Linked DNA regions of Homo sapiens: regions 1 and 2 are each linked to region 3. The links are contacts of gene promoters, found by promoter capture Hi-C in blood cells and fetal thymus (Javierre and others, 2016). All regions are on one chromosome and are shown on one strand. Each heading gives the region's core, a stretch centred on a gene start or on the middle of the fragment in contact. The rest is flanking DNA. Distances are from core to core; before and after follow the strand shown. Region 1 has its middle 69 kb from the start of LINC00293. Region 2 holds the start of LOC105375814 (a long non-coding RNA gene). Region 3 holds the start of PRKDC (protein kinase, DNA-activated, catalytic subunit).

Region 1 (3,275 bases), core at 224-2,723, 1.1 Mb after region 3:
GGCAGCCTTGTTGAGACTCTCATGGGGTTCAGCCACAGCTCAACTGTAGGTGACAGGTGCTGGGCATCAAGTGAGAGGAAGGCTTCATATGCCACTTGTGCATTTTCAGAATGTGTCCATAGGCTTGTCAGGACACCTGGATAAAAACTGTCTTGTTCCCCAGTGTTGGGCAACTGCAGGCAACGTCACCAGCACTGGTGGCACCAGCTGGAGCAGCCACACTGGAGTTTCTCCTTCCTGATGAGAGACCTCTTTCCCCTTTTTAGGGTGGTGAGCCATGAGCACACACAGGCTGCCTCTGTGGTTGGAGGTGGCCAGGCTGGGGTGGGGCAGTGGGGACTCCCTGAGAACAGGAGATGTCCCCAAACCCTAGCTCTGTCACACACTGGCAATGTGAGCCAGGAAATTGCCTTAGCCTCCCTTGGCCCTAGTTTTCTCATCTATAAAATAGGAATAAAACATGTTAGTGTGAGTAAATTAAATAGAAGACTGCATGGAAAGATAATTTTATGGTACAAAGGGCTGGTATATGTGTAAGCTTTCTTTCAGATACATACTTTGGAGTAAAAGTGGTGGCCATAGGTTAAGTCAAGCTTGTCCAACCTGCAGGCCACATGCAGCCCAGGATGGCTTTGAATATGACCCAACACAAATTTGTAAATTTTCTTAAAGCATTATGAGTTTTTTATCTCATCAGTTATTGTTAGTGTTAGTGTATTTTGTGTGCGGCCCAAGACAATCCTTTTTCTTCCAATGTGGCCCAGGGAAGCCAAAAAATTGGACACCCCTGGGTTAAGTCACTTCAGCATTAGTATTGCCCAGTTGCTCCTTAAAGTGGCTGAACCCTTTTGTACTCCAATCAGCAGTGTATGATAATTCAACTTAAATGTCCAGTAACCTTAATTAATAGAATGTGGCAGATTATTCAGTGGAAAATTTTAAGACAGTGAGAAATAATTAATTATATGTCCACACAGATGAATGTCAAAACATTATGGAATGAAAAAGGAAATAACAGGAGGACAGCACCAGTGTCACATCATTTCTTAAGGTTAAAATTCTGGGAAAGAGCACAGTAGGTCACATGATACACACACAGGCCTGGGGAGGATCCCGGCAGCAGGGAGGCTAAGGCTGGTGTGCAGGCTTTTCCTGAAATGCGGCGTTTTGTGTCCTGAGCTCTGTGTGTAGGCACACACACTTATGACAATATTCATACGCCTTTTTCTATGTCTTCAAGATTGCACATTTTTTTAAAAAAATTAATGAAAATATAGTGTTCCGAAAATATATATATATTTTTCTTATCTTTGTACCTTGATCTGTCTCCCTGAATGGGGAGAATGAGGTATAATTTTCCTGCCTCAAGTCTGAAAGAGAGGTGGGCCTGTGTAGAAAATTAAACAGAGCCTGTCCCCTCCTCTTGAGGAGGACAGGGGGTCCTGGCTAATACTCCTGCAGGCAGTCACCTTCATGGGATATCTTCTGCGTGAGCCAAGCCCAGAAAGCATCCAGGGAGCTGGGGCAAGGGAGCTGGCTCTCCTAAATGATTACTCCATGCAGGCCTACAGCCGGGGAACCTAGAAAGACCCAGGACTTGCACTCTCAACTGGGAGGGGAGAAACGGGCCTGTGAGGCTCTCCTGAGAGCAGCTGAATGGGGGCCAAAACTGAGAGGCAGAAGACACCCCAAGTCACCCAGCACACTGCTTTTCTTTCTTTCTTTCACATATGAAGATACTGAGGACAGTGATCCCTGGGCTGCAGGTGGGACCATCAGGAGGATGGGACATGACTCTGTGGAATGCAGACTCCAGCCAGTGGGGCCGGCTCCACCTTCTCTAACCGGCTTCACTACCTGCAGGGGAACGTGTGGGCTTTTCAGCTGTGCTCTCCAGGTCTCCAGGCTATCTGTTCCCAGCCTGCTTTCTAGATCCATCTCCTGGCTGCTTCCTAATGCCCTGCACACCCCTCCTGCTGGTGCCCTGAGGCCGGCAGTGTGTTCCACCTGCTTTCTTCACAGTGTTCTATCAGCCTGTGTATCATCTTTGCTGGACTTCATAAGCTGGCTGTCAGGGCTATCTTGGTCATGCCCTGTTCAATTTCATCTTCCTGATACCCCTGTGGGTTTTGTAATAATAGTCCTTTATTTTTGCAGCCCGTAGATGTAGTGTTTGTTTGTTTCTCTGAGCCTCCTTCTGAGGCAAGTTTCTTCATCTGCACTTTATGGATGAGGGCACAGCACAGCAAGCTAAAGGCCCATCCTGAGGCTGTGCAGTGAGCCAGTCGCTGAGGCTGTTCTCCTGACTCCCGTTCTACACATACTGCTTGTCTCCAAAATTGTCCCAAGCTTCCATTTTAGTACGTGCCATATGTGCATTTATCTTCCAGTTCTTTTTAAAAGCGTTGTGGGCAGTGTATTAGTCCTTTCTCATACTGCTAATAAAGAGACATATCTGAGACTGGGTAATTTATAAAGAAAATAGGTTTAATGGATTCACAATTTCGCAGGGCTGGGGAGGCCTCAGGAGACTTAAATCATGGCAGAAGGGGTAGCAAACGTGTCCTTCTTCACATGGCGGCAGCAAGAAGGGCGGAGAGAATGGGGGAGAAGCCCCTTGTAAAACCATTAGACCTCACGAGAACTCACTCACTAACATGAAAATAGCATGGAGGTAACCGCTGTTATTATTAAATTATGTCCCTCCTATGACACTTGGGGATTATGGGAACTACAATTCAAGATGAGACTTGGGTGTGGACACAGCCAAACTATATCAGGCAGGAATCATTTTTTTACTCAGTTTTGCATTCCTCCAGCTCTTCTCAGCATTTGGTTTGTAGTTCACATTTACTACTAAATGTTTGTTGGCTTGCTGAATGGAATCTGTGCTCAGTATTTGTGTGTTTATGTGCACGCATATGTATGTGTGCTCATGTATGTATTTGTGTTCACATGTGCATGCATAAGTATGTATATGTGCATATGTATGTATGTGTGTATGTGGGTGTGTGTATATGTGTATGTGTGCACACATCTGTGTGTTTATATATGTGTGTGTGACCATGTGTGTATGTTGTATATGTGTGTGTATCAGTGTTATTAGCTGGAAAGGGGAAATTAGGAATGACAAGGCAGAGTGAATGTCTCCAAGATCCATGGCATGTGTTTGCATATAAACAGATACTGATATTTGGAAGCACTGAGGCTGGTTTTCCTCACTCCCACCCTCTCCTCTCCTGCCTTGATTCTCACATAAAGACAGCCACATTTGC
Region 2 (3,526 bases), core at 702-3,201, 1.0 Mb after region 3:
CTCTGCATCCCTGCGCCGGCGATCACCCTGGAGGCCCGGGCGGCACTCCACCTTAAGGACAAAGACGGCCGCCTCCGGAGAGGCTTGAGTGCACCAGGACCCCGCGGGTGCTCCGGGGGACCCCCTCAGCTGCCGCGCAGCCAGTGCCAGCCAACCACCACCCCGTGAGCCCCGTGCTCTGGTTTCCATCTCCCGCTGCCTAGTTACTAATCCCATTCATCCTTCAGCAGCACTTGACAAAGTTCTCTCCACCCCGAATCTCATCAGGGTTGGTGTGAGGCCAGTCTGAAACTTCAGTCACCATTGATCTGTTAATTCCAGGCGTCGGCTTGACTGGCTGTGCGCTACACAGAGATTTGAGCAAACATTCCTCTGGGCAGGTCTCCGTGAGTGCTTTTGGATGAGATGAACATTGTAATCTTAGATTAAGTACAGAAGAGAGCCCTCCCTAATTTGGGTGGGCCCCATCCAATCAGCCAAAGGCCTGAATAGAACACAAAAGCTCATTAAGACAGAACTCCTTCTGCCTGACTGCCTTTGAGCTGGGACATGAGCTTTCTCCTGCCTTCACACTCCAACTGAAACATGAGTTCTTCCTGGGTCTCAAGCTGCCAGCATTTGGACTGGAACCTGCTGGGTCTCTTGATGACTGCAGACCTTAGGACTTAGCCCCCATAATACTCGTTATATATAATTATGTCATATATCTAATTAATATAAATTACATAGTTATATAAATTGATATGAATGTATAATACTTGTAAACATATAATGTATATCATATGTAAGTATTTCTCTAGGGAACACTGACTGATACACCCATCCAGCCCGCAGCTGGTTCTGGCTGTACTGCCAGGGTTCTTTGCTCCATGCTGAATGTCTAAGTCAGGTCTTGTTGCTAATTATGCAAGAGTGATGGAAACCCCTAACACCAAGAAATCATTCAAAGAAAACATTATTTTTCCATTTTATCTCTCTTTTGCAAGATAGTAAGATCTCATCAATACTTACCCTAGATCAGTATCAAAGAGAAGAGAGTTCAGCAAAGACAACACAGGGAAGAGAAATTGAAAGGTATCAATGGCCCTTATGTGCCATCTATAAGATAAATAAAATTCTACCTTATTTAATTCACATGTCAATTTGATTTGGGCAGTGATGCAATCAGTCTCAGACATGAAGAAAGCAGTACTCTGAGAGATAAAGTTGCCCATCCACAGTTCATAACCAGTGAGTGGTGGAGCTGAGAGGAAAGCCTCCTGCCCCATAGCCTCATCCCCTCCCCTAGCTAACCGTGGGCCACCATGACAAGTCCACCCGTCCTGGAGCCCACACTCACCCCTAGCCCTGCCATGCTCACCTTGAGCCTCACGCACTTCTCAGTTCTCCCCTGATCCTCCTACAGCATGGACCTGGGCAGACATCCTGTGAACTGCTTGAGTGCAGTCAGGAACCCAGGCCCCCCAGAGTGCCAAGGAGTCAGGTTTCACCTGACCCCTCAGTCCAGAGACAATGACTGACTTCAGACACATCTAGCAACAGCCTCAAGCAGAGCACTGAGCTGCGCCTGCTGGATACAGGGCTATTACTCACCTCAGATTTCTCCTGTCCTCTGTGAAATGGCAAATAAATAATGGCCCCTAATCTGCCCTAGGCTCAGATCTGCCTTTGCACCTAATAGCTGTGTCCTGTGACCCTTCCTTCCCCTCTTGTAGCCCTGCCTCCTCACCACGGCCCCCCCAATACTCTTCTTTTACATCTTCTCAACTTGAACTCTGCTGCAAGTGAGAGGAAGTAAAAGAAGAGTATTGTGAACCCACATCTCACTGTGCACTCTAACCATGCCCCCATCTGTCATGATGCTTGACACAACCCAGCCCAGTGGTTAAAGGATGTGATTCCAGAGCCTGAGCCCCTGGGTTGGTCTTAGCTCTGCTGTGGTTCCTAGAAGTGTGACCTTGGCAGTCACTGTGAACTCTGCTCACTGGGTTCCTCATATGTAATGTGAGGAATATTGCGAGGGCTAAGGGAGTAGGTACAGAGGAGAAGCAAAACAGTGTGCCTGGGGAAAGTCATCAGCACTGGTGAGAATCATAGAGTGATGCACTGGGCACAGAAGGGAGGTGGTCTTAAGGAGTGATAGGCAGAGAGCGTGAGGGTGGCGTCCAGATCCTGGGAAATCTGCTTTGATGCAGCGCTGGTTTCTTGGTGTAAGTCAGTGATTAATAAATCGTCATGCTGTGTGCTGATGATGTTTACATTTTCTGTCTTTGTATTATACTTTTAAAGTCAACATTTTAAAAATAATGCCTGGAAATTTAATAATAATTCCTGGGAGGTGATCAGACCTCTAAAAGCTGTGGAGATGGTGAGGTCCAAGCATATCTCTAAGGAAGAAAAGAAAATTTCATGAATATCTGGGGTAAAGTTGGGGTAAAGAGGAAATTGCATTAAGGGAGATGATATATAGATAAGAAAGATAGGTATAAGAGAGACATAGATTAATTGGTGATAGGTGATAGATAATAGATTGATTGATTAATTAATAAATGACAGATAAATAGATGAATGTATGACAGATGATAGTTGATGGATGACAGATGGATGATATAAATTAATAGGTACCAGATAGATGAGGATAGATTGAAACAGTGATTGTGATAGACAGTTGATAGATAATTGATTAATAAGTGATAGATGATAGATAATTGATTGATAGATCAATAGGTGATAGATAATAGACAGATGATACATGACAATTGCTGATAAATAGATAGATGATGAGTAGGTGGATGGGTGAATAGATGGATAGATGATGAGTAGATGGATGGGTGAATAGATAGATAGATGATAGAAAGAACAGTTATGGGTGACAAGTAGGAAGGACCAGAGAAGAGAGGGGAGAATAATGGGGGCCTTGGGGTTACTTCCTCCTTTGTCCCCTCCCTAAGCTCAAGACCCCTTTGTGACTGTACCATATCTTTGTGATGCGGGTCAGGAACTCTAGTCTAGAGAGCACATTCTCTGCTCAGTTGCCCGGGGAAGCCACTAGCTACAGATGCTGGAGAATTTGGGCTGGTTTCTTCTGCATTTTAACAATCCCTGGGGCTTTCTTTGGTTCTTTCTTTATTTGAGTGAGGTTGAGATCATCTTTCTATCATGTCTCTGCATTCAGTGATATCCATATTTATCCATGTTTGAAAAGACACAGACATCAATCTGGTAAGGAATCCCAAGGGCTGCCCACATTAGAGGTTAACTTCTGTTTTCCTATTCCTATTTTCTCTTTTCATAATCTATCCTTGGGATGGAGAGACCTCAGGAATGGGAACTCTCGGGGGACATTAGAATAGCATTGGTCTAGGAGAACAGGTTGGGCAGCACAGAAGGTAGGTGGGGACAAAGGCTTTTATCCAAAAGTTACAGACCATTTGCCCAGGTGTGGTAAAATCACAAATACCATGGAATTCAGGCCCATAGATTGGTTTGTTAAAGAATTCAGGACACCAGAGGGGAACAGGCCCTC
Region 3 (3,276 bases), core at 130-2,629:
TTGTGTCACACAAAACAGAAAAGACAGCCATTAACTTTCAGGGCCGGCCTTCCTGGATTTGTCTTTTCCTTGGGGCATTATGACTCACCACTGAACCAAACCAAACAGAGGCAAATGGCAATCGAATTAAGCAGCACCCAGGCCACAGCCTGCTGTGGGTGTCTGTGCGCACCAAGCGGCAGCGCCCAGCCCGAGGCTGAGCGCCCGGGTCCCGCGCACCCACCCAGCGCTGCCAGCTGCGGCGAGAGGGCAGACGGGGCGGCGCCGGGGGCTGTAGTGGGCCCGGCTCGGGGGACTCACGCGTCTGGGCGGGGGTGGCCCTTCCACGCCGGCTGCCGCGGCGGCTCGGGGTCGACGCCGGGGACGACATAGTGCTCGGAGTACCTGCGCGACAAGGACAAGCTCGGGCCGGGCCCGCCTCCCGGCTTCCCTGCCCTGCTCCGCAGCGCGGACGTTCCCGTCGGCTCCGCGCCACGCCCTCCCCGCCGGCGCGCGGTTACCGTGGAAAGGCGGCCGCTTGCCGACGACGCTCGCGGACTCCGAGTCCACCTGGCGAGTAGCGCTCCCAAACCGCGAGACCCAGAGTTCCCGCCGGCGGCAAGGTCGTCTCCGCCCCTGGCGGGGCCTCACCAATCACAGCGGCGCTCGTACGTGGCTCCGCCTCCGGGAGGCGCCACTGCGCATCGGCAGGGGGGGACAGTGCCGCTTCTTTCAGCGCCCGTGCGTAAACCAGAAGTAGGCCTCGCTCGGCCCCCCTTGGTCCAGATGGTCTGACCCCCTGCGCGGCAGCGTTTTCGCGGGAAAACTGGGTCCTACAGCACCAGCTCTCGGGGTGTGTTCCTCTAGCGTTGGCTAGGGAGCGTGTGCTTCTTTATCCCTTAGGCGTTTTTGGTTAATAAGGACATTACAGATGCATTTCTCACTTAAAGATTTTTTTTATTAAAAAAAATTAAGGACGGGAGGTGGTGGGGATGGTCTCATTATGTTGCCCAGACTGGTCTCGAACTCCTGCGATCCCCCCGCCTCAGCTTCCTAAAGTGTTGGGACTGCAGGCGGGCATCACCGCCCCCGACCGCGTTTGTCGTTTTTTATCGAGGAACAAACTTGGAACTCTTGACCTAGGCCCCTCGCTTGTTTTATCTGCCTCTGGTATTTATTTAGCCAAGTCCAACACCAAGTAGCCACCCAAACTACCTCCGCAGGTCAGACGTTTTTCCTTAGGTTTCCATGTTGATTCGGGCCAAAGAGGCGCGCTTACTGGCCAGGCCTTCCCGCAGGGGTCCCCGGGAAAGTTCCTGCCGCCGCGCCCCGCAGCCCCGCCTCCGCGCGTAGGGGCATTTCCGGGTCCGGGCCGAGCGGGCGCACGCGCGGGAGCGGGACTCGGCGGCATGGCGGGCTCCGGAGCCGGTGTGCGTTGCTCCCTGCTGCGGCTGCAGGAGACCTTGTCCGCTGCGGACCGCTGCGGTGCTGCCCTGGCCGGTCATCAACTGATCCGCGGCCTGGGGCAGGAATGCGTCCTGAGCAGCAGCCCCGCGGTGCTGGGTGGGTACCGGCCCGAGCTGGGCCGCGGGTGGGTCCTGGCTTCCCGAGTCGTTCTGGAGCCGGGCAGCCCGGCGCTTCTCTGTGTTTAGATGACGGTATTTTGAAGTACAGCAATTAGATTCTTGGGGGAATTTCTGTGTATGTGTATAAAGGGATTTGTCATACTGCTTTTTACCCCCTAGTATTAGAGGAAAGATATTTTAAAGCCAAAGTTGGTGAAAACGACCCCTAATATGGCAATCATTGCTATGCAGAGTGGGGGGCAGGGCAAGAGAAATAATTTTTTTTTTTTTTGAGACGGAGTCTCGCTCTGTCGCCCAGGCTGGAGTGAAGTGGCGCGATCTCGGCTCACTGCAACCTCCGCCTCCCGGGTTCAAGCTATTCTCCTGCCTCAGCCCCCCGAGTAGCTGGGATTACAGGCGCGCGCCACCACGCCCGGCTAATTTTTTTGTATTTTTAGTAGAGATGGGGTTTCACCATGTTGGTCAGGCTGGTCTCGAACTCCTGACCTCGTGATCCCCCCGCCTCGGCCTCCCAAAGTGCTGGGATTACAGACGTGAGCCACCGGGCCCGGCCAAGAGAAAGTATTTTCTTTCACCTGAATCTCGCCTAATCCCACCAGTACCTTTTCCAAACCCCTCTATTTGCCGTTCCTACTTTGAGAAAAATTGAAGAAATGTAATTGAAGTCATGTTCTTTTAACTCTTTAGCAATGCCTGGGTGGGAACTTTTTCCCCTTTGTAGTAAAAGTGCCTCTTTTTAGCATTTTAAATATTCAAATACTTAATTATGTGGATCTCCTGTATTCCTTCTTTAAAACACGAGTATGCAGACCTTGATGTTGTGCCCTATTAAAAGGTGAGATTTTCTTCCGGAGGGTCTAGTAGTGAATATGGTGTAGGAATAACTTAAACAGTTTAAACTAGATGCTATATGTGGCACGGTGCGGTGGCTCATGCCTGTAATCCCAGCACTTTGGGAGGCTGTGGCAGCTGGATCACCTGAGGTCAGGAGATGGAGACCAACCTGACCAGTATGGTGAAACCTTGTCTCTACTAAAAATACAAAAATTAACTGGGCATGGTGGCGAGCGCCTGTAGTCCCAGCTATTCGGGAGGCTGAGACAGGAGAATGTCTTGAACCCAGGAGAAGGAGATTGCAGTGAGCCGAGATTGTGCCACTGCACTCCAGCCTGGGCAACAGAGCACGACTCCGTCCCAAAAAAAAAAAAAAAAAGATGCTATATACATGTATCCTATATGTACTCTATCTGTTGTCAAGAATATATTAACAATGGGGAAATATCAAACAAAAAACTAACATTGCGTGATTACTTTCTCTTCTCAGGGTTTCAAATTTAGAATTCATTTTTGTTCGTTTAGTAACTTGTTTCTAAAGCACTTCCAAGTTTACCTTCCATTTATGCCATATCTCCTTTCACTTGAGAGATTCCAGGGGAAGTGTATTAGTTCCTTATTGCTGCTGTAACAATTACCACAAGCTTAGTGGTTTAAAACAGCACAGGTCTGTTACTCTTACAGTTCCCACTGTAAGGGGGATTCTGTGAGTCAGAATCCCACACAGGTCTCACCAAGCTAGAACCAAAGTACCAGACAGGGCTGCTTTCTTTCTGAAGGCTCTTGGGGAGGATCCATTGCCTTATTCATTCAGGTTATATAGGATTGAGGTCCCTGACATTCCATACTTCTTGAAGCTGTCCCCTTTCCTTGGATC

The links. The method cuts DNA at HindIII sites, captures the fragments that hold promoters and counts their contacts. A CHiCAGO score of 5 or more calls a contact.
Region 1: a fragment that was not itself captured here is called in contact with the fragment with the promoter of PRKDC in region 3 in 1 of 17 cell types (naive B cells); the score reaches 10.4 in naive B cells.
Region 2: a contact is called between a fragment that was not itself captured here and the fragment with the promoter of PRKDC in region 3, in 2 of 17 cell types (total B cells and monocytes). The highest score is 6.4, in total B cells.

What each region holds. Positions count from the first base shown.
Region 1 is chr8:46,908,043-46,911,317 of GRCh38, reverse strand. No RefSeq gene overlaps it. Among named protein-coding and RNA genes, the nearest start is that of LINC00293, 69 kb to the right of the region's middle. The HindIII fragment of the contact is 1,756 bases long and covers 596-2,351 here.
Region 2 is chr8:46,951,359-46,954,884 of GRCh38, reverse strand. It overlaps LOC105375814 (a long non-coding RNA gene), which reads left to right and starts at 3,001. Exons shown (of 3, transcript NR_188092.1): 1 at 3,001-3,222. The HindIII fragment of the contact is 7,979 bases long and covers 1-3,526 here.
Region 3 is chr8:47,958,239-47,961,514 of GRCh38, reverse strand. PRKDC (protein kinase, DNA-activated, catalytic subunit) reads left to right here and starts at 1,379. Exons shown (of 86, transcript NM_006904.7): 1 at 1,379-1,542. The coding sequence starts at 1,389. MCM4 (minichromosome maintenance complex component 4) reads right to left here and starts at 574. Exons shown (of 17, transcript NM_182746.3): 1 at 501-574; 2 at 301-384. The coding sequence starts at 370. RefSeq lists silencers at 141-540, 1,211-1,510, 1,521-1,570 and an enhancer at 1,751-1,910. The HindIII fragment of the contact is 8,899 bases long and covers 1-3,045 here.